Linked DNA regions of Homo sapiens: regions 2, 3, 4, 5 and 6 are each linked to region 1. The links are contacts of gene promoters, found by promoter capture Hi-C in blood cells and fetal thymus (Javierre and others, 2016). All regions are on one chromosome and are shown on one strand. The core of a region is centred on a gene start or on the middle of the fragment in contact, and the rest is flanking DNA. Distances in the headings are between cores, read along the strand shown. Region 1 holds the start of MTSS1 (MTSS I-BAR domain containing 1). Region 2 has its middle 4.3 kb from the start of ZNF572. Region 3 overlaps LINC00964 (long intergenic non-protein coding RNA 964). Region 4 has its middle 23 kb from the start of LINC00964. Region 5 overlaps NDUFB9 (NADH:ubiquinone oxidoreductase subunit B9). Region 6 has its middle 41 kb from the start of LINC00964.

Region 1 (3,724 bases), core at 392-2,891:
GATCTGTTGAGGCAAACTGGGGCTGGGCCAGAGCCAAAGAGAAGCTCCCTAAATACACATTAAAAAAATAATTTCCCCCACCGCTCCCAATTCCCACCTCCAGCCAGCTCGCGCGGCTGGTTTTATTTCCTCTGGATGAATAACACGGGGCCCTGGTCTATCTCTAGGCACCAGAAAATCCACATCCGAGGATCAGGTTATCCCCAGTCCCACCCTTTGCAGGAAAAAACCAGGGTGTTGTTCCCCGCCCCCACGCGCGCGCGCGCACACACACATGCACGCGCGCACACACACACCATCTTCACAACCCTTCCAAGAGAAAACCTAGAGTGTGTGTCCGTTTGGGTCTGGGAGGGCAGGATACAGTTATTTCGGGGGCCCCAATCTTGCCTTTAGGCTCAGCTGGGAGAAGGCGGGGCCCCTGCAAGGCTGCCCGGGAACTTCGGCCCCGCGCCCCGCGGGAGGGCTAAGAGAGGGCACGCACACCTTTACCAGCTTCGGAACGGCCCAATTAATAACTAATTTGCTCAGATACCCCACTCCAAGTAGACCTGACAGCCAAGGAGGGACTGGCTTTCCCTCTCAGTCTCCTAGGCTAGGGGACTCCTTCCTGCGAGCGGGCAGAGCCCCCACTTCCTCCCCACCACCGCGCCAGGCGCCCCCACCCCGTGCCCGGAGGAATCAGGTGTCCTCCCGGGCATCCAGCCCCCGCGGGTCCCAGACACTTACTTCAGGGACAGACAATGGGAAAACTTGCAGCCAGTGCCTTGAGCCCCCGAGGGAAAGAAATGGTGCCGCCCCCTGGGACAATGAGCGGGGGAGATGGCGTGGGACAGCAGACACCCCCCAGAGAAGCCACCCGCCCAGTGACCCCGCAGAGCCCGGAGCAGCGCCCCGGGTGAGCAGGTGACACTCCGGCCGGGAGCTCCCGCAGGTGGCCGGTGGCCACACTGCAGGGAAGGGCCGGGTGCCCGGCCCGGGGTGGAGGCGAAGCGCGGCGGCGAGGTCAGAGCGCGGCGGCCGGCGCCGCAGCCGCACCCCCGGCGTCCTACCTTCATGTCGCTGATGATGGTCTGGAAGAGGCCTCCGAGCGCGCTGCATTCCTTCTCAATCACAGCCTCCATTTTCCCGGCTCCGGCAGGGCGAGGGCACACACGCGGGGCCGCTGGACTGCGCGCGGGGCCGGGGCTCGCTCACCCCAGAAGGAATTTCACCTTCCGAGAGACCCACCTCGGACTCGCAGCCTCTTCTGCAGCGAGGACGGGGTGCACCAGACCGACTGTTCTCTGCCCAAAATAATAACAGTAATTTAAAAAGCCAAACCGCTCTGTAGGGTATTCGCCTACAAGCAGCGCTCGGCTCCTGGCCTTAAAAATGCCGGGAGAAGACTGACAATCAGGCCACCACTGGTGCCCACTACGGAAACGGCAAAGCCCATCTTGATGCAGAGAAAATCGCCCGCTGACCCGGGGCCAGCGCCATTGAAAAACGCAAGATTTTCCAATTTAATAAATTTTTCTGCAATTAAAAAAAAATCGCCCAACAGCAGAGCGGGTCAGCTCGCGGCGTCCGGATCTGTTGCTCGCAGCTGCGGCCGCCGCCTCCTTTTCACTCCTGCGCGCCCGGCCCCGGCGCTCGCTCTGGCTGGGCTCCCGGGGACGTTCGGAGGGGCGCACGCGCGCTCGCGGCCGTGCCCGCCAAGCGGAGGCGCGCTCTCGCGGCCGTGCGGCCGCCGCACGCGGGCGGGGCTGGGAGCGCGCGCCCGAGAGGCGCGTGGGGCACCCGCCGCAAAGAGGAGCCTGCTGGTCTGCTGGCGGGCAGGCGGCGCTGGGCCGGAGCCTCTCCCTCCGGTGCGCACAGCGCACCCTCTCCTCCCCCGGCCGCCCGTCGCAGCGCGGAGAGGGCGTGTCGGCACCCTGCCTGGCGAGCGCCCACCCCTACAATGGCTGCGAGCGCGCGGGACGGAGGGTGCACCGCCGCTCCCCGGGGACTTGCACGGGTGGCGCGCCTAGCCCAGAGCCCGCTTGTAGTGAGCGCTCAGTAGGGCGGGAAAGCTGCTGCCGCTACTGCGGCCTTCTGAGAAGACGCCCATTCTCTGATGTCAGGACTGCATCGCCGAGTCCTGATTGCAAATAGCGAAATATATAATTAAGGAGAGTTCGGGGGCGTATCCTGCAATGGGATGCCGAGTTCGATAAAGTTGCAGGATGCTGGGAAAGTGGATTGATTTGCTGTTGCTAAATGAATGGAAACAGCGTTAGAGCTTCTGTCCACGATCCATCAGTCTATCGAGATTGCTGATTGCCTATGACTTGGACGGTTGATGGTTTTCAGGCCCACTGAGAGCAGCCAGCGTTGGTATAACCGCAGGGAGCCCTCCTGGGAGGTTGAACCTGCAGAGCGCAAATGTGCCCAGGTTGATTTGGGGCCTAGTGGTCCATTTTCACAGCTCCACTGCCTATCTGCATAACCAGGAGCCCTCATTCAGATGAACGCCAAATGGGCCAGAGGGAGGAGAATCAAATGAGCAACTTTTAAAAGATATTAAGACATAGGCACCTAACTCCGGACAGTTCCTTTAACCCTTGAGCTAACCATTTGAAGCACAAAACATAACAAAAGAAAAGACTGGGGGGAGTGGGGCCAAAAGAAACCAAGTGCAAAATTCTGTACACTTGTGTCAGATTCACTCCGTAATGGGAAAAGGTCTGGCTTTGAAAACTTTATGGATCAAAGGGATGCATGGAGTTACACAGCACAGCTGCAGAAGATAATGTTCCCCTGGATCACTCTGCCCAACTCTTAACTGCAACCCACCTTCCCCATCCGTCTCCCCGAAATCACCCGGAAGGGTGTTACCTTCAGGAAGTAACTGATCTCTTGATCACCCCTGCTGGATCCTGTCCCCAAGGGCGTTCGAATGCATCCGACTCATCTTCACCTTGCCAATAACGGGTGCTTGACACATCGTTTGCTGCCAATCATTATTGTGATTTTAATACTATTGGTATTCTAACTATCAAGATGACTGCTTGTAGAGCCAGATTGCCTGGATTCAAACTCCAGTTCACAACCTACTAACTGTATGCCTTTAGGTATGTTACTTAACCTTTCTGGGCCTCAGTTTCCTCATCCATCTGTAAATGGGGATAATGATGGCTTCTACCTGATAGGGCTGTTCTGAACATTACATGAGCTGATCGATGAAAGCACTTCAAGTGGTACCTGGCATCTCGTAAGTAATCATTCGATAAATCTTATCAACAGAAGAAGCAGGGATGAGGCCAAGGCTCAGGTCCAGCCCTGGCCCCATTTCACTTCTGTAACATTGGTGTGCTGTCCCAGGCACATTGCTGAGGGTCTACTGTGTGCATTCTGGGCATTTTATACGTATTATGTCTACTTGAAGGAAATTATCATTCTGGTCCTTGTTGCACTGTTGGAAGGAATCCAACCCTGGTTTTCTGACTTCCATGCCCCAGGTCTCTCTTTTACCCAGCCTCCTGAACTCCTGGGATAAGGGGCCTTAGCCCAGTGGACACTTGGTCTAGCTTTCCTGCCACATGCTTAAATTTCAATGCCCCAAATACCCCAACTTTAGCAATGTTTGCCAAAGCATACCTCTCTTGTGGCCTTTTTCCCTGGGCCTGACCACCAGGCCCTTGTCTCTCATGAGAACTCCTTGAAAGGGAGGCTGGAAAAGTGTTCCCAGATGCAGGAAAGT
Region 2 (3,724 bases), core at 790-3,289, 240 kb after region 1:
CTTCTATGATGTATGTCTGTGCTTTATGCATGAAAAGGGTATTTTTTTTTCATGCTCCCCCTGAAGAACTCTTTTGTCCCCTTGGGGGCGATATCACCACTGTTGAGAATCGGACCCCCTTCCTCCATCTTCCAATAACAGTTTGCTCATGGCTAGAACAGATAATTAGAAGGCAAGCGTCACTCTTCTTTCATTTCCGAGCTGGACCTGTGGTGCCAGGCTCAGCCTGCTTACACACACCATATAGCCATCCTCCAGCTGGAAGTTCTGTTTGAAAGCTTGCTACTCCAGGGAACGCACAAACTTTGTCCGTGTGCCCTCAACCCCAAACTAGAGCCTCCCCAGCAGTTTAGCTGTGTACTAACTAGAGTCAGTTACAGAGAATAGAATTCACTTGAGCTGACATAAGGAATAATAGATATATTACAAGGATTAAAGGACTTTTGGAATCTCTGGGAGGACTGAGGAAATGGACTGTGGGCTGAGCTTCCAGGAGTGTCAATCAAAGGTGCTGCTACAACTATGGCAATTACAGCTTCAAAGAAGTCTTGGAAATGTAATGTTTAGCTTTTTCAACTGTATTAGTCTGTTTAGGCTATCATAGCAAAATACTAGACTGAGTGGCTTAAACAGCAGAAATTCATTTTCTCACAGTTCTGGGGTTTTTTGGTTTTTGCTTCTTTTGTTTTGTTTTGTTTTTTGACAGGGTCTCACTGTGTCATCCAGGCTGAAGTGCAGTAGTGCAATCATGGTTCACTGGAGCCTTGAACTCCTGGGCTCAAGCAATCCTCCCGCCTCAGCCTCCTGAGTAGCTGGGACTATAGGCATGTGCCACCAATGCAAAGCTTTTTTTTTCTTTTTTTTTAAAAATTGTTTGTACAGATGGAGTCTCACTGTTGTCCAGACTGGTCTCAAACTCCTTGGCTCAAGTGGTCCTCGTGTCTCAGAGGTACTGGGATTACAGGTGTAAGTCACCATGCATGGCCTCATTTTCGCACACTTCTGGAAGGTAGAAGTCCATGATCAAGGTACTGTCAGTGTTAGTTTCCATGAGGCCTGTCTTCCTGGTTTGCAGATGGCCACCTTCTTGCTATGTTCTCCCCTGGCCTTTCCTTTGTGTGTACACAGACAGAGATGTCTCCGGTGTCTCTTCCTCTTCTTACAAGGACCCCAGTCCTATCAGATTAGAGCCCCACCATTATGACCTCACTTAACCTCAAACACCTCCCTTGAGGCCCTATCTCCAAATACAGCCACACTGGGGATTACAGGTTCAACATAAGAATTTTGGGTGAAGGCCGGGTGTGGTGGCTCACGCCTGTAATCCCTGCACTTTGGGAGACTGAGGTGGGCAGACTATTTGAGGCCAGGAGTTCGAGACCAGCCTGACCAACATGGTGAAACCCCATCTCTACTAAAAATACAAAAATTAGCCAGTTGTGGTGGTATGCACCTGTAATCCTAGCTACTTGGGAGGCTGAGGCAGGAGAATTGCTTGAACCCAGGAGGCAGAGGCTTCAGTGAGCCAAGATGGTGCCATTCTACTCCAGCCTGAGGGGACAGAGAGCGAGACTCCATCTCAAAAACAAAAAACAAACAAAAAAAAGAATTTCTGGTGGACACAGTTCAGTTCATAACACCAACTCTTCTCTGCAGGAACGCATAATGAAAGAAAGTGGTAATGGTTATTGAGCAAACCAATATACAATATCCACCACAGCTTTAAAAAAATAAAGGTTAAATTATTCATTTCAACATAAGTAATAGTATAAGTTCAGAAGCAATATAAAAAACAGGTTAAATAAATACTGTTATATTTACCCAATGGAATATCATGCAACTGTTAAAAAAAAGAATACTGGGAGCTCTATGATAAATGTCTGTACTATTATAAAAAACTCTCGGTTGGGTGCAGTGGCTCATGACTGTAATCCCAGCACTTTGGGAGGCTGAAGCAGGTGGATTGCTTGAGCCCAGGAGTTGGAGATCAGCCTGGGCAACATAGTAAGACCCTGTCTCTACAAAAAACGAAGCAAAACAAAACAAAAACAACAAAAAAACCAAAACCCAAAATTAGCTTGGAGCTGAGAGTGGTAGCACACACCTGTGGTCCCACATACTTGGGAGGCTGAGGTGGGAGGATTGCTTGAGCCCTGGAGGTTGAGGTTGCAGTGAGCTGAGATCATGCCACTGGACTCTAGCTTGGGGGACAGAGTGAGATCCTGCCTCAGAAATTAAAAAAAAAAAAGAGAGAAGAAAAGAAAACTCTCCATGTTGTTAAGTGAAAAAACTAAAATTTAGAACAAAGTGAATAGTTTACTATATGTGTAGCAAAAGAAATGTATGAATATATGTCATCTATCTTTATTCATTACCTATATATGTGTATATATACATATGTATATAAGCAGGTAGGTAGGTATTTGCTCACATATGGCATTATCTGTGAATAATACACAAGAAACATACAACGTTGGTTGCCCCAGTGGTGAGAAGAACTGGATAGCTGGGGGCAGGGATGAGAGAGGACATTTCATTTTATGTATGTATTTTGGAGGTTTTTGTTCATTTGCTTGTTTGTTGAGAAAGCAGATTCTGAGACTGAGTTTAGTGTCCAGGGTGTTGATTAGGAAATGGCCTTGGTATCCAAACCTGTGGAAGGGTGAGAAAGGAATCAGGATTGAGCAGAGGGGGAAGACCTACAATTTGGGCCTGACAACACATTCCTCCATCAAGGCCATCAAGAACTCAGGAGTTGGCTGGGCACTGTGGCTCACACCTGTAATCCCAACACTTTGGGAGGCAAAGGCAGGAGGATTGCTTGAGCCCAGGGGTTCACATCAGCCTGGGAAACAAAGTGAGACCCCCCTCTCTACAAAAAAAATTAAAAAATTAGCAAGGCATTGTGGCACGTGACTTTAGTCCCAGTTACTTAAGAGGCTGAGATGGGAGGATTGCTAGAACCTGGGCAGTCGAGGCTGCAGTAAGCCGTGATTGTGCCACTGCATTCCAGCCTGGGTGACAGAGTAAGACTGTCTTAAAAAACAAACAAACAAACAACACTCAGGAGCTGAAATAGTGCATTTAAGAGTTATCCTGCTTTGGACAACATGGACAGCCTTTTATATTTCTGCCTTGATCAGTCCCCAGACGTGGGCTGCCTTGGAAAGGGCATGAGCTCCAGAAAGGCTATTCTCTGAAACTGAAGCACTCCCTGAGGGAGCTAACAGCTGAAAGCTTTCTGTTCACAGCACTCTCAAAGGTGGGCAACATGTACTTCCTTGGATTCTGAGTGATTCATCTCTGTGTCTGTCACTTACGGCCTATATGATTATGATCTAACCTCTTGAAACTTCTCTGACCTTACCTCCAAGTACTGTTCACTTCACTTGCTCTGCTCCTTATTGTTTCTTGAGTTTCCATCTCAGAGTCCTTTTTCTTACTGTTCCTGTCTTAATTGTTCCTCCCTTAAATAACAATGAGGCCCACGACTTTCTTCCTTCATACTTCTGCTGAAATATCTGCCTACTGAGAGGACTTCCCTGATCACCTTACCTGAAATAGTACACTTCCTTTAACTTCCTTTACTTCTTTTTCTAATACTCATCACTGCTTAACATACATTTCTTTGTTTACTTTTTGTTGATGTTCATTTATGATCTCCCTCACATTGTTTGGTTCCCTGGTGTATCCTCAGTGTCTAGGATAACACAGTAACAGGCAC
Region 3 (3,724 bases), core at 525-3,024, 220 kb after region 1:
CACAGATGTTAAAATTAGCTGACAAAGACATTACAGATGCTGTTTGACTTGTGATGGGATTATATCCTGATAAACCCTTGTAAATTGAAATTATCATAAGTTGAAAATGCATTTACTACATCTAACCTACCAAACATCACAGCTTAGCCTAGCCTATCTTAAACATGCTCAGAAAACTTACATTAGCCTACAGTTGAGCAAAATCATCTAACACAAAGCCAATTTTATAATAAAGTGTTGACTTTGGCTTCTAAATACCATTCTCCACTAAAAGGAATCAAGGTTCTTTGGAGAAATGACTGATTCTAGTGTTTGGACTAAAAAGTACAAGATGAATCTAAAAGATATTTTTGTGCCAGAAAGCAAGGAAGCTCTCAAAGACTATGGAGTCATATCAAAAGGACCCAGAAGCTAACTTGTAGATAACTCAAATAGCCAGTTGGAGACAATTTGACCATCAAAATAATTAATATAAGGGATTATAATCCTTGTGGTAGGCAGAATAATGGCCTACAAAGTTGTCTATGCCTGCATCAGTGGAATCTATGAACATGGAATCTTGCATGGGAAAAGGGAATTTGCAGATTTGATTAGAGACCCCAAAATAGAAAGATTATCTTGGATTATGTAATAGCTAAAATTGAGTGTCAACTTGATTGGATTGAAGGATGCAAAGTATTGTTCCTGGGTGTATCTGTAAAGGTGTTGCCAAAGGAGGTTAACATTTAAGTCAGTGGACTGGGAGAGGCAGACCTACCCTCAATATGGATGGGCACGATCTAAGCAGATGCCCCCATGGCTAGGATAAAGCAGGCAGAAGAGCCTGGAAGGACTAGACTGGCTGGGTCTTCCAGCCTTCCTGTTTCTCCCTTGCTGGATGCTTCCTGCCCTCGAACATTAGACTCCAAGTTCTTCAGCTTTTGGACTCTTGGGCTTACACCAGTGGTTTGCCAGGGCCTCTCAGGCCTTCTGCCACAGACTGAAGGCTGCACTGTTGGCTTCCCTACTTTTGAGGTTTTGAGACTCAAACTGACTTCCTTGCTTGCTACTCAGCTTGCAGACAGCCTATTGTGGGACTTCAACTTGGCATTGTGTGAGTCAATACTCCTAATAAACTCCCTTTTATATATACATCTATCCTTTTAGTCCTGTTCCTCCAGAGAACACTGACTAATACAGATTATCTAGACAGGCCCAGTGTAATCACATGAGTCCTTAAAAATAGAAATCCTTCCTGACTACAGAGAACCAGAGAGATGGAAGCATGAGAAGGACTCAACCTGTGTTGTTGGCTTCCAAATGGAGGAAGGGATCCAGGAGACAAGGAATGTGAGTGGCCTCTAGAAGACAGAAAAGGCAATAAAATGGATTCACCCTTAGAGCCTCCAGGAAGCAATGCCACCCTGTCAACACCTTGATTTTTAGCCCAGTGAGTCCTGTGTCAGACTCCTGACATAAAGAACTGTTAGATAATGCATTTATGTTGTTTTAAGCCACTAAAATGTGATTTGTCTCAGCAGCAATAGAAAACTACCGTAATCCCTTTGAATAAAATAGGAAGGTGTACGTCCATAAAGATAGAAATAAATGAATAAATTGAAAGTTTGATGAGGAACAGGATATCTATTTCAAAATAACTCTGCACAAAACACTTATTAATTACAAAGGGTTAAAGAGCAATTTGGAAGTTATTCCTAGTTCTCTGCTAGGAGGAGCCTAGTGGATACCACCCTAATCAAGTGATCTAACTGAATATCAACAGCAGTGAGACAGATGTAAATTATGCCTCAGCCAATAGTATCAGTGAGAAGAATACAACACTTCTGTGGTATTTCTACCCAAGATACATAACTTAAGGAAACATCAGAGACATTGTAAGAAACTCAGATTGAGGGACATTCTATGTAATAACTGGTCAGCTATCATCAAAGTTGCCAAGGTCATTTAAGTTAAGGGAAGACAAAGGAACTTTTCCAAGCTAAAGAACACCAAAAAGACTTGACAATTAAATGCAATGTGTGGTTTTGAACTGGATTACTTTGTTGGAATCACTGGCAAAACTTGAATGGGTTCTGAGGATTAGACTGCAGTTAGTATCAATGTTAATTTCCTGATTTTAATGGTTATATTTTGGTTATGTAGAAAAATTTTTGAAAAGTCATACTAACAAAAGATAAATAATTATGGTAGCTTGTCTCCAAGATGGCTGACCAGCATAAATTTCTTCTCCCTATATCCACACAAGCCAGGGTTGCAGTTTATTCCTTTGTTCCCTTGAATGTGGCCTGATTTGTGACTGCTTTGGTCAACAGAATACTACTAAAGTCATGCCGTGTGACTTCTGAAGCTAGCTCCTAAGAAGTCCTTGCAGCTTCTGCCTGCGACTCTTAGAACACTTGCTTTGAAGGATGCCAGATGCTGTCTTAAAAGTCTGAGCACTCTGAAACCATCATGCTGTGAGGAAGCCCAAGCTAACCACATGGGCAAAAAAGATGCCCTCTGACTGCCACCATTTGAGACACTCTAATTAAGAACTGCCTCATTGAGCCCATGAGGCCCTGTGAATGATAATAATAAATTGTTTTTAACCACTATGTTTTTGGATTTGTTATAAGTTTATAGATAACAAGAAAAAGTTATATTAGCATGGTAATAAAATTATGGATATGTGTAAGTTTGGTGTTTTGTTTCTTTTTTTTTTTTACACTAAGCCTATATTACTGTTGTAATTTAGGAAATCACTTGTTTTCCTCCAGCACTTCAATGTAAGAGTGGCACTACTTAGAATGTACTTCTTAAGATATGGCTGTACATAGAACAAATTATTCACCATGATTTCCTTAGCATCCAACAGAATACCTGAGTGTAGTAGATGCTTAGTAAATAGTTGTTGAATAATTGACATATGGGAGAGTGCTGGATAAACTCTTTGAGAATGACATTATCTACTTCGATTTATGTGAGTCTGGCATCATATTTTTTTTGCTGTCTTTAAAGAAACCAAGAAGAAAGGCTGTGTGTTGAAGTTATGATTTATTGCTTTTCTCCCCTATACATTTATTTCTTCACATGATCATCTCCTCTGCTTTCTTCTGTGACTAACTTGCTCTATCTGTGTGAACATTTTGCCACTATTCTGCTCCCTTTATACCTGCCTAGGCAAAGATTGCACAAAAAATAAAATGATAAACAAAGCTCTGTTGCAAATAAAACTTAGATGACACGCCAACATCTCACATCAGTCAATATGTGAAAAGAATAATATCCATGGACAAGTAGGGCTAATTTCAAGAATACAAGAATAACCCTGGGGAATTAGTTAATATAAGTAAATCATGTTTCATATATCAAAAAAATATGATCATCTTGGCTTTTAAAACGTTCTTAGGAAACAAGATCTTGAGGAATACTTTATTAACATGATAAAGAAGATTTACATTAAATGAGCATTTATTGAGACATGGCATATACAAGATAATGTTGAATTTTAGGAATTAAAATATTAAGTAAGGCAAGTCACTGTTCTCAAGAACTTAAAATATAAAATATTAATCACAGAACCTTACCAGCCTCTTTTTCTGCAGTGGATCTAGAATGTCACAATTGGAAATTAATGCAAAGGAAATGTTTCAAATTAAGACATTTGCATAATGATCATTGCAGTGCTATGTTCAATAGCAAAGTATCTTGACCTTAATACCTGACAACAAGGGGCTAGTTATGT
Region 4 (3,724 bases), core at 601-3,100, 190 kb after region 1:
TTTCTTTCTTTCTTTCTTTCTTTCTTTCTTTCTTTCTTTCTTTCTTTTTTTTTTCTTTCTTTCTTTCTTTCTCTCTTTCTTCTTTCTCTCTTTCTTTCTTCTCTCTCTTTCTTTCTTCTTTCTCTTTCTTCTTTCTCTCTCTCTTTCTGTCTTTCTCTTTCTTTCTTTCTCTCTTCCTTCTTTTTCTTTCTTTCTTTTTTTTTTTTTGACAGAATCTCACTCTGTCACCCAGGCTGGAGTGCAATGGCATGGTCTCGGCTCACTGCAACCTCTGCCTCCTGGGTTCAAGCGATTCTCCTGCCTCAGCCTCCCAAGTACCTGGGGTTACAGGCGCCTGCCACCACACCCAGCTAATTTTTGTATTTTTAGTAGAGACAGGGTTTCACCATGTTGGCCAGGCTGCTCTCGAACTCCTGACTTCGTGATCCGCCCGCCTCAACCTCCCAAAGTGCTGAGATTACAGGTGTGAGCCACCACACCAGGCCAGGCACAAGCTTTTAACAAGACACTTGAAAACTTTTTCTCTAATTCTTCTATATCATCCCTTCACTGAGGCACAGGGGCAACTTGTTCAGTTATCTGAACAAGGAAGGAGTCACAGGTAGCCAGAAGCATGAGTGGGTGCTTGGGGGAAATTTTGGTTAAGAGTTCAAAGATTAACTGCATTACACTGTCATGTCAATGTTTACTCTCATCTTACCCTGAGACTGACAGCTCTTTGCAAGCTGAAACTGTGCACTAGTGCTATTGTCTTTACATGCAAGACCTCTTTGGGACACGTTTTTTGAAACACCACATCAATAGACCATAAATGTGAATGAACTCCCTTTGTTAGAAAATCATCATAACTTCATTAGCCTCTCAGGGTTCAAAGTTAAAAAAAAAAAAAAGAAAGAAAATGATCGTAACTTCCATTTGTAAGCACTTTACAGATTTGTCTTCATGACTTTATTTAATCCTCCAAACAATCCTGCTAAGGAAGGCTAGGCATTACTATTTCTTACTTTATGCAGGGCCGAGGCTGAGATCAAGGTCTGCTTGCTTCATAGCCCATGTCCTTTCCATTAGGAGGAAGAACAGGAAAAGGAGGTGGGAAGGGTATGTTACCATAATCAGAATCCTGGATTCCCTGATAGCATCTTCGGCCAAACTTGGAAGTGAAGTCCCTTATTTCAGGGTCACATGGAAGCCTAGGGTGGGTGAATAATCTGAGAAAGAATGCTAATGCTGGATAATGCCTCACTTGGTCACAGTGGCTAATAGGAGACTTCACTGCTTTAGCAAAGAGTTCTCCAACATTTTTGTCCCCTCCCATTCTTGAAAATTACTGAGGCTCTAAAAGAGCTTTTGTTTATACGGGTTGTACCTATCAATCTTTGCAGTAGTAGAAATTAGAATGGAGGAAATTTTTTCAACTTTTATTTTACGGAGTACATATGCATGTTTCTTACATAGGTATATTGCATGATGTACCTATGCATGATGCTGAGGTTTGGAGTACAAATGAATTCGTCACCCAGGTAGTGAGCATTGTACCCAATAAGTAGCTTTTTTCAACCCTTACTGCCTCCCTCTCTGTCTCGCCTTGAATTCCTCAGTGTCTGTTGTTCCCATTTTTTTTTTTTTTTTTTTTTTTTGTGAGAAGGAGTCTCGCTCTGTCATCCAGGCTAAAGTGCAGTGGCGCGATCTCAACTCACTGCAACATCTGCCTCCCAGGTTCAAGCAATTCTCTGCCTCAGCCTCCCGAGTAGCTGGGATTACAGATGCCCACCAACACACCTGGTTAATTTTTGTATTTTTCATAGAGATGGGGTTTCACCATCTTGGCCAGGCTGGTCTTGAACTCCTGACCTCGTGATCCACCCACTTTGGCCTCCCAATGTGCTGGGATTACAGGCGTGAGCCACCATGCCCAGCCTGGAAGCATACTTCTTTATGCAATAGCAAAGAATCACATTTATTAATATGACCACTGATATCCTCAGAAACATCTTTAAGTATTGGAAAGCTATCAAATGCATAGTGGCAAATAACACTTTTTTCTGAAAAATTCTAATTTTCACTTGAAAGCTCAAATGTTGTCATTGGCAACAGTCAGTGGCGTTCCTTGATGTGACAGGCTCACTTTGTTCATTTGTTAAGAAAATGCCTGCCAAATACCCAAGTCTAAATCAGTATAGTTTGTCAGCCATTATCTCAAGTAAAACTTGCATTGCATGCAAAAAAAATAGTTCAGCTTGCAACTTAAATAATTGCAGAAGTACTTTTCCTCAAGACAACCATTTTATTTTGGTATGCAGCAGAAATACTTCGTGTGGACTTCCCATTTATTAAGAAATCAGTGTGAAACTGGCTATTACCTCTCCTGTGAGTGATTGAGGGGATGAAGAATCAGTGCCACTGCCTCAATTCATGCTAAGGCAGTTTTTTTTACCTGTCTTTGCTTTGGCATCATACGTGAAAATGGAGAATTTTTGCTTATGGAGAAAAGGCAAATAATGTTTTTGCATTATTGGGGAAATAGCTTTGACCTTGAGGACCCTCTGAAAAGGTCTTAGGCATCCCTAGGGGCCCATGGATCATCCTTTGAGAACCACTGACCTCATGAAATAACTGGTGGCGGAATTCAAGATTCAGCTGGTAGAGAAGAACAGTCATTCCTCTCCATATCAGGAGATTTGTGTTCAGTCCCATCCCTTCTCTGGCCTTAGTTGTATCTTCTGTAAAAGGGGATAATAATATGTCCTCCCTACAGAGCTGTTATGAGAAGTCAGTCATGACAATGTAGTGAAAACATGTGATTGCGGATAAAGCTCTGAGGGAATCAAAGAACTAGACAATTTATTCAGGGTCTGTGAGTATTGTGGGGGAGGAAGAAACCTAAGCCTCCCATCATATTGCCAAGATGACCATCTGCTCTGCCCATGTAACTCAAGCTAGAAGAGGAAGGAGCTGCTACCCATGGTGCCCCCTCCAGGGACCAGCAGTAACCTTGAAGCCTCCTCCGTCTCCCATTCCTTTGCCCTTAGTGACTCCTCAGTTCTGCCCAGATACCCTACATTGCTTTAGTCAATTTACTCTTCTCCTTTCCAAGACAAACACAGGAGAAAATCTAGCTCCAGGGCTAGGCAAAGCATTCCTACACTTGACATGAAAAGCACAATCCATAAAAGGTGAAATTAATCAATTAGACCTCATCAAAATTAAAAGCTTTTGCTCAGCAGAGGCCCTGTTAAGATGAAAAGGCAAGCTAGTCACAGACTGGGAGAAAATATTCGCAAGTCACACATCTTACTAAGAACTTGTGTCTAGAATATATAAAAAATTCTCAAAAGTGAACAGTGAAAAACTGTTTAGAAAATAAAACATAGAAAATGAGCAAAAGAGCGCCAGGTGAGTGCTGCGGACTGAGCCGCCACAGTCCGGCATGAGGGCTTGGGGTCTGGCTACTGCCTGCTTCTAGCTGTAGTGCCATGAATGCCTGCAGAGCTTGCCCTGCCTCCTGACCCATGCAATGGGACTTCCCTGGCCTTGGATCTGACCTGTGTGGGCCCGCCGGCTCTGCGTAGCAGGTGCAATGCATGGGTTTAGAACTTCTGATGTCTCTCAAGCCACTGTAGGCAGTGTAGCCCCAGTATTTACCGCAACAAAATTTGACAAACAGGGAAATGTTACTCCTTTTGAAAGGAAGAAAACTGACTTATACCAAGAGTTAGGTCTTCAA
Region 5 (3,724 bases), core at 460-2,959, 190 kb before region 1:
TAGGCCTGGAAGAATTACAGAGGGTACCCTCGAAGCCCAGATTGCATATATGTGACTATTAGAAAATCACTGACATACTTCTCTTGATTTGGCAGGAAGATGGCCAAGTACAATGTGATGGGATTGTTAGTTTCTTCCTTGAGTTTTCCTTATTTATTTATTGATTTGACAGAATTTGCAATTCAGATTCTATGCTCTATGCTAAATATATAAATGTTAGTAAATCCATTTTTGAGCAGCAGCAGCTCACGGATTAGTGGGGAAAATGGACATGTAAACAAATCGATGATGAAGGAAGTTGAGCCATCAGGGATTCAGGTATCCCAACACAAATGGTAAATGTTTGAGGTGATGAATATCCAAATTACCCTGATTTGATCATTATACATTATATGGATGTATTAAAATATCACATGTACCCCATAAATAGGTACAATAATTATGTGTCAAAAAAAGTTAAACATGAAAAAAAGAATTCAAGCAATACTGAACTATAGCTGGGAATACTAAAGTCCATAGTTCTAGAGGAAAATGATATAAACTAGCTACTATGACAGTTATGGCTCAGCATTTTTTAGATCTGACATTCTTTCTCAATCCTTGCCTTAATTTCTTCCTCCATTTGCCCTCATTGTGCTGTTCTCTGTGGTTCCATCCTAGGCATACTGTGTTGTTGTATGTACTCGGGCAGCCTCATTTAGTGCTGTCACCACCTGCGCTCATTTGTCTCTAGAGCTGTAGTTCGAATTGCTTGTTAGATCACGACTGTTGGCTGGGCATGATGGCTCACGCCTATAATCCCAGTACTTTGGGAGGCTGAGGTGAGTGGATCACCTGAGGCCAGGAGTTCAACAGCCTGGCCTACATGTGAAACCGCGTCTCTACTAAAAATACAAAAATTAGCCAGGCGTGGTGGTGGGTGCCTGTAATCCCAGCTACTCATGAGGCTGAGGCAGAAGAACCGCTTGAACCTGGGAGGCAGAGGCTGCAGTGAGCCGAGATAGCCCCATTGCACTCCAGCCTGGGCGACAAGAGTGAAACTTTGTCTCAAAAAATAATAATAAAAAAAAAATTGAAAAGATCACCAACCGTTCTCTCAATCTCCATTTATCTAAATTCTTTGAAATCAAACTTGTTTTCCTGTCACTCCCCATTCTGACTCTTTTCCCAAATTCCCTGCCTCCGCTAATGGTATTATTAGTAATTCAGTTACTGAGCTTTAAGTCTCAGAATTGTTCTCAAGTATTTGCTCCTTATTCCTTTGCCAATAACACACATACTCATACACCATGTATAATTAGACACTGGTTTTTATAAATTCTCTTTCCAGTATGATATTAGTAACTGACATTATTTAACACTTGGGATGTACCAGGCACTTTTTAAAGTGTGTTTATCTTATTGACTGTTTATGACAACCTTAAGATATACACACTGTTATTGCCACTGTTTTACAGAGGAGGAACCCGTGGCCTAGAAGACTTTTTTTGTTTGTTTTTTTGTTAGACGGAGTTTCGCTTATGTTGCCCAGGCTGGAGTGCAGTGGCGCGATCTTGGCTCACCGCAAGTTCCGTCTCCCGGGTTCAAGCAATTCTCCTGCCTCAGTCTCCCGAGTAGCTGGGATTACAGGCATGCGCCACCACGCCTGGCTAATTTTTGTATTTTTAGTAGAGACGGGGTTTTGCCATGTTGGCCAGGCTGGTCTTGAACTCCTGACCTCAGGTGACCTCCACCTCAGCCTCCCAAAGTGCTGGGATTACAGGCGTGAGCCACCGTGCCTGGCCTTTTTGTTGTTGTTGTTGTTGTTTTTTTTTGAGATGAAGTCTCGCTCTTGTCCCCCAGGCTGGAGTGCAAATGGCACAATCTCGACTCACTGCAACCTCTGCCTCCCGGGTTCAAGCTATTCTCCTGCCTTGGCCCCCAGAGTAGCTGGGATTACAGGTGCCTGCCACCACGCCCGGCTAGTTTTTGTATTTTTAGCTGAGACGGGATTTCACCATGTTGGCCAGGCTGGTGTAGAACTCCTCACCTCAGATGATCCCCCTGCCTTGGCCTCCCAAAGTGCTGGGATTACAGGCGTGAGCCACCATGCCCGGCCTCATTTTTGTATTTTTAGTAGAGACGGGGTTTCTCCATGTTGATCAGGCTTGTCTTGAACTCCAGACCTCAGGTGATCCACACGCCTTGGCCTCCCAACGTGCTGGGATTACAGGTGTGAGCCACCGCACCTGACCAGAAGACAGTAACTTACCCCAAGTTACACAGCTAGTAGTGGCAGAGCTAAGATTCAGGCCCATACAGTCTGACTGGAGAGCCTATTCTCATAACTTGGAAGTCTCAATGTCTCCCCTGTCTCCTGTCACCATCACAGCTCCGTACTTTCAGGCCCTCGTCAGCTGTGTCCTAGATTATTGTCAAAACCTCCTAACTGATCTTTGCCCAGTTTCTTTAGAACTTGACTTTAACTTGCCTAAGTTTATGCAGCTAGTGTCAGAGTCAGGATACAAACCTAGCTCTGTATGAGCTAAGCAATACTGTTTCTGCCAAGTAACACCTTTCTTATTCATCTTTGTATCTCCAGAATTTAGCATAGTGACTAGCACAAGATAGAAGGAAATGGAAGTTGTCATTCAATGAATGTTGAATGATCCTGCAGAGGTTATAGCTTTTCTCTTGCGAATGCTCTTTTCTTTTTTTTTTTTTTTTTTTTTGTTTAAATCCTCATTCCATTGTTGGATGTAAGAGGAGAAAAATGGTTAGGGTATATATTTAATACAGTATTTTTTTGCTGCTGCTGTTTGGTGGGCTGTAGAGGAAGCAGCCATGATGATACGGCTGCTCCATTGGGAGGGTTGGGGTAGGTCCACTGCCCATCCAGAAGGTATCAGAAGTGCAGCCTCCTGTCAGACAGCAACACTGACCACGTGAGTAGGTAACATTTCTAATCTTCAAAATCATTTTGGTTTAAGAGACAAATACCGATACTTTGCTTGTTTGATGAGAGCCCGGTTTGAAGAACATAAGAATGAAAAGGATATGGCGAAGGCCACCCAGCTGCTGAAGGAGGCCGAGGAAGAATTCTGGTACCGTCAGCATCCACAGCCATACATCTTCCCTGACTCTCCTGGGGGCACCTCCTATGAGAGATACGATTGCTACAAGGTAGGTGAGAATTATGATGACTGCCTTCTGAGAAATAGACTTTGTTTCTTCAGTCCCACACCTCAGCCTCAGAAATCACTTGCCCTTCAAGGGGTAGCTAGGAGACTTATTTCCTGACAGTTGTCAGATGCAGGCCTACCTCATTTTATTGCATTTTGTTTTATTGTGCTTGGCAGATATTGTATTTTCACAGATTGAAAGTTTGTGGCAACCCCGTGCTGAGCAAGTCTGTGGGCACCATTTTTCCAACAGCATGTGCTCACTCCCTGTCTCTGTTTCTCAGTTTGGCAATTCTTGCAATATTTCAAACTTTTTTTTATTATTACTCTATCTACACACAGTTGTGGTGAACTGTGATCAGTCACCTTTGATGTTACTATTGTCATTGTTTTGGGGCACAAAAAAACCATGCCCACATAAGACAGCAGACTTAATCGATAAATGTGCGTGTGCTGACTGTTTCACCGACCAATAGTTCCTCCGCCTCTATCCCTCTCCTCAGGGTTCCCTATTCCCTAAGACGCAGCAACAGTGAAATTAGGACAATTAACGACCATACCAT
Region 6 (3,724 bases), core at 655-3,154, 170 kb after region 1:
TAAAGATTGCCTTGCTGACAGATCTTTTGTCTCTGTGCTGACTTTTCTTCAAGGCACCAATGATCTATTTCTAACAATTTTGGTGGCAATCATACAGGGATACATTCTCCTTCAGGGGTGTCTCTAGTCCTCTTTCATGAGGTGGCGCCCCAGTGCCTCTTGCAGTGGCCTCAGGGGTAGAGGTCCGAGACCCACCTGGTGTGATGAATAAGCAATACAGAAAGAAACTGGCCAGCAACCTGGGGTAAATGATCCTCACATACCATGGTGAGTACTCTCTGCACAGACCAAGGAAGGAAAAGCCGCAGGAGCTGGTGAAGTACTTCCTTGGTGGTCAAATTCTGGAGGGCTGAATGTGTGTGCACGTGAATGATCACAGACAACTCTGCTTGCAATGTTGTGTGGATGGTGACAAGTCCTACTGCTGGATGGAGTGAGTGGGTCCTCTCTGCAGTTCCATAACTACCTCATATGGCTTAGGGCGGATCCTGCCATGGGATTTCTACCAGCACGCCAATGCTAAGAGGGGCCTAATTCTCCCTTGGGGGAGTGGCCAGAGAGGAGAACACGAATAGGAAGTGTGCAAGGGACCTTCAGAGGGGGAAAGGGAGGAAACAGGTCGACCTCCGAGGGCAGGCAAGGCAAGACACCCACTGGTTTGAAGGGTTGAGATTTCCAGGGCAAGCAAGGCAAGACACCCCTCATTTGAGGGGTTGAGACTTCCAGGACAGGCACAGCAAGACACCCCTGGTTTCAGGGGTTGAGCCTTCTGCTAATTTCAGGGATTGAACCTCAAAAAGAGGTGAGAAATCCTCATTGGGGGGATTTGAACCTCAAAGAGGTGAGAAATCCCCATTGGTGGGGGATTGAACTGTTACGGGTGGGTCATTGTTCTTAGAGCTCCCAAGATGGTGGCAGGCTGCCCCAAAATGGGGGCAGCCACTCCCAAGATGGCAGCAAGCTTTTTGTTCTCTGACCTGGGGTTCTTGACCTCACGAATTACAAGGAGTGGAACCTTGGGCCGTGCGGTGAGTGTTATAGTCTATTAGAAGCCATGGGTCATGGAAGAGAACCGTGGAACCCAGCAACTTGTGTTCAGCTCGATTAGGACAAACCAGGGCACTTAGCCATGCAGGAACAATGGTTAGCCTCTAGCCCCAACAGGAGCGGCAATGGGCACCTCGCTGGATCAGAAACACAGCGGACACCCTGCCAGATCCAGAGGGGTGAAAGTCAACAGTGGGTCTGTGACGGCAGCGTTTAGCAGTGGGTGGACAGCAAGCAAAAGCTCAACTCGAGCCGGAACAAACACAGACCAGAAGAGTGTGCAGTTGCAAGATTTAATAGAGTGAAAACAGAGTTCCCATTCAATGGGAGGGGACCCAAAGGGGGTTGCCACTGCCTCTCAAATACCTGTGTTTATATCCCAATCACTGTCCCTCCCCCTGTGCTCTCAGGTGATAGATGATTGACTATTTCTTTACCTCCTGCTTTTAGCCTAATTGGTAGTTTAGTGAGCTCTCTTTACTACCTGATCGGTCAGATGTAAGCTGAGTTACAAGCCCTATATTTTAAAGGTGGGTGTGGTCACCTTCCCCAGCTAGGCTTAGGAATTCTTAGTCAGCCTAGGAAATCCAGCTAGTCCTGTCTCTCAATCCCCCCTCTCAACAGGAAAACCCAAGTGCTGTTGGGGAAGTTGGCCGATGACCGTTCTAACTGCTTCCTGCTGAATTGGGGCATAGGAGGGGTCTCGCAGTTCAGATTTCCTCAGGAGGGGTGCCTTCGATGTCATCAACATCGGAGCATGGGCTAGCAGGCCAGTCCAAGGGTCTGTGGTTGATCTTAGTCATAGACTGCATCTGGGGCTCCATTTGAAGAACAATTTGTAGTTTTACAGTTTTGATTCTGGAAGAGACAAACTTAACAAGGAGGTTAAAGATACAGGGATTGAAATGTATGGCCTGAAGTGCAGGGGCAAATGGGTGTGGGTGGTGAAAATGGGGTTTCCTTTAGAAAAACTCCTATACAGTGGGGCATCAATATTTCTGGGAAGCCATGCTCTCCATAGAAGCTCTTGGTAAGGGGAGCTACTGGTAGTACAGCAGCATGCAAGAGGTGCAGTGAGAGTGCAAGAGAGTAAGAGAACAGTAAAGAGAAATATATGACAAGGGAGGGCCATGGGCATCTGCGATTCTAGTTACTTTCCTCATGGTTGTCACTTGAAGAGCAGGTGCAGATCCTCTAGAGGTTCACAGGAATAACTAGCATTGTCTCCTGGAGTGAGGGGATTACTTTCAAGTATTCCATTATCACTGACCAGTGCATACCCCACCTTTTGAAGTCCTTTTTCTACAAAGGAACTTCCATCAGTATACAAGTTGAGGTCAGGATCAGTCAAGGGAACTTCTAGAAGGTCCCCTCAAGTGGCGTAGGTTTGAGCAATTGTTGACAGTTATGCATCTTTTCTTCATTGTCTGTAAGAAATGTGGCTGGGTTAAGAGTTGCACAAGTGCGCAGTCACAGCACTGGCCCTTCAAATAATAGAACCTGATATTTAAGCAGAAGGTTGTCTGACAGCCACAAGTCTCCTTTAGCAGTGAGTATGCCGTTCACATCATGAGATGTCCACATGTAAGATCTCTTCCCTTTATCATTTTAACTGCTTCAGATACTAATACTGCTACTGCTGCCACTACGCATAAACAGTGAGGCCAACCCTTTGCCACTACATCAATTTCCTTACTCAGGTATGCCACAGGTTGCAAGCTGGTCCCTCGGACCTCTGTAAGGACTCCTAGAGCTACTCCTGTCTTTTCTGTGACATATAAAGAAAAGTCTTGCCCATCGGCAAGCTTAACACTGGGGCTTGCGTTAGGGCCTTCTTTAGGGCCTGGAAAGCAGCTTGTGCTTCAGGTGTCCATTCTACTAAATGGGTATTGGCTTTCTGAGTTTCCTTAATTAGTGTGTGTAATGGCCCCTGCTTTTGCTAGAATGTCTCTCCCTAACACAGGAGTGGGTCTTTCAGGCAAAATTAGAAAACCATGTGAAAAGAGTAAAGTACCCTAGTCACAACTTAGTGACCGCGAGAAGTATCTAGTGACTGGCTGTCCTAGGACCCCTTGGATTTTGACAGATCTGGAGGACAGTTGTCTGGGACAGGAGAGTAAGACTCAGAAGGCCATGCCAGCGTCCAGGAGATAGTTAACCTCCTGGCCCTCAATGGTCAAGCATACCCGGAGCTCTGTGAGGGTGATGGCATGGGCTGACACTTGTGCTGGGCACCCTCAGTCCTGCTGCTGGATCATCTGGTTAGTGGCTTCTGACTCAAGAGGACCTTTGTTCCCTGGGGCAGTGGGCCTTCCAGTGATTCCCTTGACATAAGGGGCATGGACGAGGGGGCAGCTTATTTCTATTCAGACAATCTTTTTTAAAGTGTCCTTGGAGACCGCACTGGAAGCAAGTCCTATTAGGCATTTGATTTGCCCAGCCTTTCCCTTTTCCAGAGCCTCCAAAGTCCGCTTGCCTGAGGGCCATGACTAAAGCGGTGGCCTTTTTTTTTTTAAATCCCATTTGTCCCATTCCACCTGCTCCTCCTGATCTCTATTATAAAAAGCTGAGGTTGCCAAGTTCAATAGGGTTTCTAAGTTTTGCTGCGGGGCTAAGGTGGACTTTTGAAGTTTTTTCTAATGTCTGCAACTGACTGAGTGATAAGCTTATCCTTTAA

What was found. The method cuts DNA at HindIII sites, captures the fragments that hold promoters and counts their contacts. A CHiCAGO score of 5 or more calls a contact.
Region 2: a fragment that was not itself captured here is called in contact with the fragment with the promoter of MTSS1 in region 1 in 2 of 17 cell types (total B cells and megakaryocytes); the score reaches 6.1 in total B cells.
Region 3: a fragment that was not itself captured here is called in contact with the fragment with the promoter of MTSS1 in region 1 in 4 of 17 cell types (naive B cells, megakaryocytes, erythroblasts and 1 more); the score reaches 5.6 in naive B cells.
Region 4: a contact is called between a fragment that was not itself captured here and the fragment with the promoter of MTSS1 in region 1, in 8 of 17 cell types (megakaryocytes, erythroblasts, total B cells and 5 more). The highest score is 19.0, in megakaryocytes.
Region 5: a contact is called between a fragment that was not itself captured here and the fragment with the promoter of MTSS1 in region 1, in 2 of 17 cell types (naive B cells and total B cells). The highest score is 5.7, in naive B cells.
Region 6: a contact is called between a fragment that was not itself captured here and the fragment with the promoter of MTSS1 in region 1, in 2 of 17 cell types (naive B cells and megakaryocytes). The highest score is 5.7, in naive B cells.

What each region holds. Positions count from the first base shown.
Region 1 is chr8:124,726,832-124,730,555 of GRCh38, forward strand. It overlaps MTSS1 (MTSS I-BAR domain containing 1), which reads right to left and starts at 1,642. Exons shown (of 14, transcript NM_014751.6): 1 at 1,053-1,642. The coding sequence starts at 1,124. It overlaps LOC105375741 (a long non-coding RNA gene), which reads left to right and starts at 1,708. Exons shown (of 3, transcript XR_002956670.2): 1 at 1,708-3,235. The HindIII fragment of the contact is 14,334 bases long and covers 1-3,724 here.
Region 2 is chr8:124,967,116-124,970,839 of GRCh38, forward strand. No RefSeq gene overlaps it. Among named protein-coding and RNA genes, the nearest start is that of ZNF572, 4.3 kb to the right of the region's middle. The HindIII fragment of the contact is 2,392 bases long and covers 844-3,235 here.
Region 3 is chr8:124,948,504-124,952,227 of GRCh38, forward strand. It overlaps LINC00964 (long intergenic non-protein coding RNA 964), which reads left to right. Exons shown (of 4, transcript NR_027321.1): 4 at 2,313-2,592. Among named protein-coding and RNA genes, the nearest start is that of LINC00964, 8.4 kb to the left of the region's middle. The HindIII fragment of the contact is 6,113 bases long and covers 1-3,724 here.
Region 4 is chr8:124,916,955-124,920,678 of GRCh38, forward strand. It overlaps the pseudogene MRS2P1. Among named protein-coding and RNA genes, the nearest start is that of LINC00964, 23 kb to the right of the region's middle. The HindIII fragment of the contact is 2,716 bases long and covers 493-3,208 here.
Region 5 is chr8:124,540,118-124,543,841 of GRCh38, forward strand. It overlaps NDUFB9 (NADH:ubiquinone oxidoreductase subunit B9), which reads left to right. Exons shown (of 4, transcript NM_005005.3): 2 at 2,970-3,162. Among named protein-coding and RNA genes, the nearest start is that of NDUFB9, 2.9 kb to the left of the region's middle. The HindIII fragment of the contact is 4,221 bases long and covers 1-3,724 here.
Region 6 is chr8:124,898,893-124,902,616 of GRCh38, forward strand. No RefSeq gene overlaps it. Among named protein-coding and RNA genes, the nearest start is that of LINC00964, 41 kb to the right of the region's middle. The HindIII fragment of the contact is 1,891 bases long and covers 960-2,850 here.